Regions from separate parts of the Homo sapiens genome. Here region 2 is linked to region 1. The links are contacts of gene promoters, found by promoter capture Hi-C in human tissues and cell types (Jung and others, 2019). All regions are on one chromosome and are shown on one strand. Each heading gives the region's core, a stretch centred on a gene start or on the middle of the fragment in contact. The rest is flanking DNA. Distances are from core to core; before and after follow the strand shown. Region 1 holds the start of TUBG2 (tubulin gamma 2). Region 2 overlaps RETREG3 (reticulophagy regulator family member 3).

Region 1 (3,987 bases), core at 1,352-3,851:
AAGCTTCAGGTTGTTTTATCTGTGCCTCTGACCAACCAGCTATAAATCGAGGTTCTCAGGACTGCTCCTTGGGTTCAATTAATTTGTTAGAGTAGCTCACAGAACTCAAGGAGACACTTACTTACGTTCATCCATTTGTTATAAAGGATATTTTAAAGGATACAAATAAACAGCCAGATGAAGAGATACCGAGGGGAAGCTCTAGAAGGGTCCGGCGCATAGGAGTTGCTGCCCTGTGGCGTTGGGTTTGCACCCTCCTGGCCTGTGGATGTGTTCTTGTTCACCTTCCTGGAAGCCCCCAAACTCAGTCCTTTTGGATTTTTATGGAGGCTTCATTACACAGGCATGACCGATTAAATCATTGGCAATTGGTGCTCTACTCAATCTTCATCCCCTCTCCCTTCCCCAGAGGTGAGGGGTGGGCCTGTAAATTCCAACCCTCAGAGCACCAGGTTTGTTCCCCTGGCAACCAGCCCCCCATCCAGTGGCTATCTGGGACTTTCCAAAAATCGCCTCTTTAACATAAGCTCAGGTTTGGTTGAAAGGCACTTGTTCCTCCTTAGTACAGTGGTTAGTAAAATTAACTAATTAAAATAAAATGAAAGATTAAACTAAAAGAAACGGGCTTGTTATAAATAACAAAAGACTGTCTTTCACCTTTATCACTCTGGAGCTGTTCTGGAGCTGTTTCAGAAACCAAGGACAAAAGGTCAAATATTTTAACAAAACATACTATTATTGCTCTAGTCCCTTAGGAAATTACATGGGTTATAAGAGCTGTAAGCCAGGAACATATCGCACCCAGCATGGGGAGAGATGGAGAGGCAGTCTCCAAGGATCTGGGGGAGAGACTTCGGCTTGGTTCATTCTCCATTCCCAAAACGCCAATGTCTCAAAGCTTCCTCTTATGCATCCAGGCTGAGGCTCCTTGGGAAGGTTTGGAGCTGGAGAAGCAGCTGAATGACTCATGCCTAAGGGGCCGGTGCCATTCAGATTTATGACTTCCTTGAGAACAAAGATTATATCTTATTCACCTCAATATCCCACATCTGATGCTCCATAAACGGGTTTTGAATTGAATTGCTCCCCTCATATTACCTATCCAGGCCACCTCCTGACCTGTCCCCAGCACTCTTCGGCCTCCCTGCCCATTCCTTCCCCCACTCCATAACTTCACCTCCAAACTGTCACTTCCATCTGCTTCTCGGTCTATGATGTCAAAGATGTCTTCATGAATTTTCTCACCCTGTATAGAGATATGGAAAGGGAGGGTCAGGCCAAAGGTTCCAGAGAGCATCTTTTCTCAGCACAGCACCAAGAATTCTGTCTACCCTGGAATATTGTTGCCACCCTGAAGCAGAGCCTAGGCTGTAGCCCTCAACCCAGAAGTGCTACTATTGCAAATGATTTGCACAAAATTTGCATAAACCTCTCCCTGGCTGTCCCTCTTGTTCGGGACATCCTTTTGTCTCTTATTTTCTGTCAGTCAGGTCAAATTCCTAGTAGCTTGAGCCTGCCTTGCCTCTGGATGGGAATATCAAAGGTCTCTGGAATGGTCGCTAGGACACCTGGGAGAATCCGCTGGCCCAGTTGTTGCCAGCTCCTCCTCCATGTTCCGACAGGTAGATGTTCTCTGGGTTGTAGAGCTTGGCATAGGGGGAGTTGAGGATGGAGTGGATCACCCGGGGTTCCAAGTCCAGCAGCACGGCCCGGGGGATGTAGTGCTCATCGTCTGCCTGTCAAGGGGAGTCCAGGAGGGGGCCCAATCAGCTAGGGCGGCCCAAGTCCGAAGTCCTCCCAACTCTGGCTCCCTCCGGCCCTCCCTCCTCAAGCCAGCCGCCTGGCCCTACTGCCCAGCGGGGTTCCCAGTACCAGGCCACTCCCTTCCCTTCCGCCCCCTTGGGCCACTGCCGCCCCCGGCCAAGTCGCTGGGGGCACCTGGTAGAAAAAGACGTCCTTGCGGTCAGTGCCCTCGGTGGCGAATTCCTCCACGATGCCCTCGGGGCTGATACCATGCTCGGCGCACAGCTGTTTCCAGAACTCGAACCCAACTGGGGGAGGGGGGAGATGCCCGGGTCTGCTGGAGCCTTAAGGCCTGAGGAGCCCAGTTTTAGTCTCAGAGGCTGACACGATCAGAGGGTGGACCCAAGATGCCTGGGTTTGGTAGCTGCCCCAGCCCCGGGCTGGAGGCGCAGCTCTCGGTCTGGGTTATCCAGAGCAGCAGGGCAGGGGGTTCATGGAAGGGAAAGGGGGACTGGTGGAAGCCAGGCACTTGGGTGGGACCCGAAGGGGCAGAACCAGAGACCGGCGGGGCCGGCGCTCGCTTGCTCACTCTGGTTGCCGCACTGGCCCAGCTGCAGGGTGATGATCTCCCGGGGCATCGCTCTTCAGACGTGGGCGCGCCAGCCCCGGCCTGGCGAGAGTCACGGCTGAGACGAATGCCCGGCAGCCAGGAGCGCAGGACGTGGGGAGCGCGCGCTCTCTTCGCCTCTTGACGCGGATGCTCGGTCTGCGCGTGTGCAGCGCAGGCCTCTCCTCGGCCGGTGGGCCGGGGAGCCCAACCTGGGCATCATTTTCTCCCTCAGCAGTCGCAGCTGGAATTCCGCACAGGCGCAGAGTCAGGCCACGCCCGCTCCTGCCCACCGCTCCGCGCCTGCGCAGTGAGACTCGTTGGGGGTGGCAGGGTCGGAACCTGGATGTGTTGGGGAGGAGAGGAACGGGGGAGGGGAGGAAAGGGGAGAAGCGGCCAGGTGGATGTGCTTGTCCACGTGTAAGGAGTCATCTACCTATATTGGTAGGTGAGGACACTGTCAGCTTTGCTAGATCAAAGGGCTAGAAGCCAACTTTTCTTCGTTTAAATTTCTGTTTTTTAATGGTGTTACAATACATACACATGTATGTTACCTTTTTATTTTTTAGAAGGGTCTCGCTCTGTCGCCCAGGCTGGAGTGCAGTGGCGCGATCATAGCTCACTGTAGCCTTGAACTTCTGGCTTAAGTGATCCTCCCACTTCAGTCTCCCGAGTAGCTGGGACTACAGGCGTGTGCTACCACGCCCAGCTAATTTTTAAATTTTTAAAATGTATTTTTATAGAGATGGGGATCTCACCGTGTTGCCCAAGATGGTCTTAAACTACTGGCCTCAATCAATCCTCCTGCCTTGGCCTCCCAAAATGCTGGGATTACAGGCATGAGCCACCACTCCTGGCCTAAATTTACCATTGTAACCATTTGTAAGTACTGCATACAGTTCTGTGGCACCAAGTACACTCACATTGTTCTGTAACCACCACCACCATTCTTTTCTAGAACTTTCTTATCTTCCCAAACTGAAACTCTATCGCGATTAAACAGTAACTTCCCCTTGACTACTCTAGGCACCTGATATGAGTGGAATTATACAGTATTTGTCTTTTTGGGTCTGGCTTCTTTCACTTAACATAATATCTTCAAGATCCTTCCATTTCGTAGCATGTGTCAGAATTTCCTTCCTTTTTACAACTGAATAATATTCCATTGTATAGATGTACCACATTTTGCATAACCATTCATCCCTCCATGGACATTTGGGTTGCTTCCACCTTTTGGCTATTGTGAATGTTGCTGCTTTGAATGTGAGTGTACAAATATCTGTTCGAGTCCCTGCTTTCAATTATTTTGGATATACACCCAGAGGTAGAATTGCTGGATCATATGGTAATTGTGTTTAATGTTCTGAGGAATCGCCATACGATTTTCCATGGTAGCTGCACCATTTTAAATTCCCACCAGCAATGCACAAGGGTTCAGTTAAATAAATTTTATAGGAGGCCATTGATTTGCACTGAGCTCCTGTGCTTGGCTCAACAGACCAAACCAAAATGGAGTCACTCACGCTAAAGTTCTATGTCACTAAGCAACACTAAGTTGTTTATCAAACCTTCAGAGGAATCAGGAGAGGGAAGGAAGAGCCAAAACCCCAAACAAGCCAGTGTGAGCCGGCATGATA
Region 2 (3,604 bases), core at 2-2,501, 72 kb after region 1:
AAGATCGTGCCACTGCACTCCAGGCTGGGCAACAGAGCGAGAAGACTCTGTCTCAAAAAAAATAAACACAACAGGTGGATTTCTAGGGTTGGAGTTGTTACAACGTACCTTGTGTAGCCTGGCACAGATTGATGTGTATGGGTATCCCAGACACACTCAAGGGGTGAGATGGACCATTTTTCTTGTACACCTTGGCTTTCAGCTGAGGTCATTAGAAGGGGGCTCAAATAGTCCATTTGGACCTCCCTTCCTTCCCCTCGAAAAATGAGTAGGCATAAGTGATTATTCCCTTGTCTGCAGCTCCCTAACTGGCAGTATAACACAGTGTCTCCTTTTTTATCGGCTATTACTGTTTTCTTTTCCCCAACCTATTAAAACTTGAGCTGTCAGACCAACAGCCTAACATTTTCATGTTTAGTTTTCCCTACCAACTAATGCTGGTGTTTGTTTTAATATTGTAGTGCCAAGACCCGACGCATTAGACAATGAGAGGTATGGAACACTAATTAAATCCCTTTTTGTTGCTCTGATTCATTCTCTTGTAATATTCTGGTTACATGTTGTTAACCCCATGTTCTGGACACACAGTGTAAACTGAGAACCTAGGCTGTTCCAAATGATCATTTTAACACATCCTAAAGTTCAGGCAGCAATATGTTGAGATGGCCTGTGTCCTCTGATCTTTACAAGAGAAGTTTCTGAAAAAGAAGCATTACAGTGCCCCATAACCTGACATGCCAGGGAATCAGCTGCATTATTCAGTCCCAGTGAGAAAACTTAAAGGCAGCTAACTTCATTTGTCTCCTGGCTTTTATACCAGGTCATTTAGTGTTTTCTGTGACCTCTGGCTATTTAAAGTTCCCGGTCAGAAAACACATTGGTTCCTGGCATCAGCAAGTCAAAGCCAAAGATTCCTCTTGTGTCTTACAGCTCCTGCTTTCATTTCTCAGTTCATCCACTCCATTTGTTTGATCCAAAGAATTTTCTCTGCTGTGGTTTATTTTGGTTTTGCTTTATTTATTTTCTTTCTAAGGGGCACATCCACCATTTCCTCCCCCTTAGCAGCAGTGGTGTCAGTCAGACTATGCTCACTTTTATCCCTGGATTGCAATCACAGGGAATTGGAATGGTCTGAGTGCAAGGAAGAAAACGTTTCTAAGCACAAAGGGCCTTGGAGCTGGGGACAGGTTTACACACGTGGATTGGGCTGCTTGCTCATAGGGTGGAGTTGTCAGAACAAGTTTGTCCTCCTTGTACCTAAATTCAGATTTCAACCTGGTGAGCCAAGAAGAAAGTCATGCTTCACCTCCAAAGCACCTGGGCCTAGTCACTCCCCAAACCCCATTTAAAACCGGAAGCACTGGCTGCCTGCACAGCAAGATGGGGGGACCCTCAACACCCTCCTTTCACAGCTCCCCCTTCTCTCTCCCATAGCTGGGGCTTTGTGCACCCTCGGTTGCTCAGCGTGCCCGAGCTCTGCCACCATGTAGCTGAAGTCTGGGTTAGTGGGACCATTTTCATAAGGAATGTTTTGCTTTTCAAAAAGCAAAACCCAGGCAAGGTAAGACTCTTCCCTTTTTCACTTTCATCTCTGGCCTCTCAGTTCAGTTCATGCTAAACTGAAACAGCTCCTTTACTATGTGTCTTCATTCAAGAAAGTAAAGACTATGATGTTCATAGAGACAAAAGGAAGCTATAGGAAAGGCCTTCTGACCAGCCATTAGGACTAACACAGGAGCTTGGTGACTGCTCATTTGGTGTGGTTGCCACTTAGATGAGGCCGTTTTCTTGCTTCAAGATAGGAAAGAAAGCTTTCTTGTGTACATTCTGTGTCATATTAAATATGTGATAGGTTGTTGTGTTTTTTTGGGTTTTGTGTGTGTTTCTGTTGACTTAAAAAACCACCACCAACATTGCTTTCAGAGAGAATTTTTGGCTAAGTCCTATTCAAACCAATTTCTTGGCAGGAAAGGTGCAGCCCTATGGGGTTAGCCATGTAAAAGGAGTTTGAATAGAAGGGGACATGCTCCTTTTCTTCCCAAACAGAATCACCTTTGGATGCAACAGTGGCTGCACGTCCATGCTTGACTTACAGAGTCTTTCTGTCATATCTCTACCCTAACCCTTCACACCCACCCCAGTCCCCTGCCATGTGACAGAAACTTAATACTCTTTCTTGATTCCCCAGTTCTGCTTGCTGAGCTGTGGGATACTGACCTTTTTGGCTGTCTTGGGCCGCTACGTCCCTGGGCTTCTGCTGTCCTACTTGATGCGTAAGTATGACATATACCTCCCCTACAAAGTATACCCTGCTCATAGCTTTCCAACTATGGCTAACTCTAGGTGTGGGGAGAGGACTGTTATATTTCAATTCTCTAGGATATGACCTTTGCATATTTTCATGACCTGTTTAGTGTCATGAAAATATCCTTCTTTAGCAGGCTCTCCACATACAAAGTTCATTTCTTACCAAGTCAGAAATTGATGAGGGTCCACTAACATATATTGTTGGTATTACCAACTATAAAGGACTGCCTGTCCCTGTTTAAGGAGAGAATTTTTAGAGCCAGGGTATTGTCAGCAGAACATAACTCTTAGGGGTTTCTCTGCTAGGTTCTATTTATGCCAGAGTACTTTTTTCCCACTTGGAGCATAGTTTTGTAAATTTAGTTACTTCCTGTTGGCATGTACTCAGCTTGCTTGGGGCTGGAAGAACTAAGTACTTATGCCTGTGGCTTTTGTATATCAAAACCTCGCATGATTTGTTGTGTAATTTCCATTTATGGCTCAGTGACACCCATTGCCAGGTTCTGCCCTTGGCCTGTCAGCAGCATACTGTGCTGTGCACAACCCTGCAGTAGGCTTTGTGGGTGGCTGTAGAAGTCCCTGCCCTCAAAGACTCCTTCATGTGTAGGGGAGACTGGTGAAGATGACTGGCAGACTTGGGCAGATCTGTTCCACACTTTGTGTCCAAGCCCTAAGGACCAATAGCAGCGCTACAGTTGGGAATGTTTTTTGCAGCCCCTTCTCCATTTTGTCACTGTTTCCCATGCCTCCTCACAGTTGTCACTGTCATGATGTGGCCCCTTGCTGTGTACCACCGACTGTGGGATCGAGCATATGTGCGGCTGAAGCCAGCTCTGCAGCGGCTAGACTTCAGTGTCCGTGGCTACATGATGTCCAAGCAGAGAGAGAGACAATGTAAGTGTCATGGTGTCATTCTTTCCACTTACGCAATTTGGGGCGAAAAGGAGAAGCCCATAGGTCTGACATACTGGGTGGGTCCTCAAAAGTGGAAGTCGGGGGTAGTTGGTGGGGGTGAGGATTGATAGGTAAAAATGATATTCTGTTCTAGGGAAACCTGTGCAGGCTTGCCAGTTTTTATCATTTGTAATCCTAGGCTCCCGTTTTAAACCTATCTGATAAAAGCTCTTTCAAGTTGAATAAAAGCTAGACAGTGAAGATAAATTCCTAGTATTTGTGGTTTGTTTTTTTTTTTTTTTTTTTTTTGAGACAGGGTCTCATTCTGTTTCCCAGGCTGGAGTGCAGTGGCATGATCATGGCTCACTGCACCCTTGACCTCCCAGGCTCAAGTGATCCTTCT

The links. Contacts are between HindIII fragments. The study calls those that stand out against the background at their distance.
Region 2: a fragment that was not itself captured here is called in contact with the fragment with the promoter of TUBG2 in region 1 in 9 of the 25 tissues and cell types used here (H1 embryonic stem cells, IMR-90 fibroblasts, adrenal gland and 6 more).

Annotation. Positions count from the first base shown.
Region 1 is chr17:42,657,898-42,661,884 of GRCh38, reverse strand. It overlaps TUBG2 (tubulin gamma 2), which reads right to left and starts at 2,601. Exons shown (of 11, transcript NM_016437.3): 1 at 2,333-2,601; 2 at 1,939-2,051; 3 at 1,569-1,736; 4 at 1,178-1,246. The coding sequence starts at 2,381. RefSeq lists enhancers at 2,385-2,454, 2,505-2,574, 2,585-2,644, 2,002-2,769. The HindIII fragment of the contact is 23,957 bases long and covers 452-3,987 here.
Region 2 is chr17:42,584,722-42,588,325 of GRCh38, reverse strand. It overlaps RETREG3 (reticulophagy regulator family member 3), which reads left to right. Exons shown (of 9, transcript NM_178126.4): 3 at 462-492; 4 at 1,435-1,561; 5 at 2,189-2,273; 6 at 3,064-3,201. Among named protein-coding and RNA genes, the nearest start is that of PSMC3IP, 8.8 kb to the right of the region's middle. The HindIII fragment of the contact is 8,959 bases long and covers 1-3,604 here.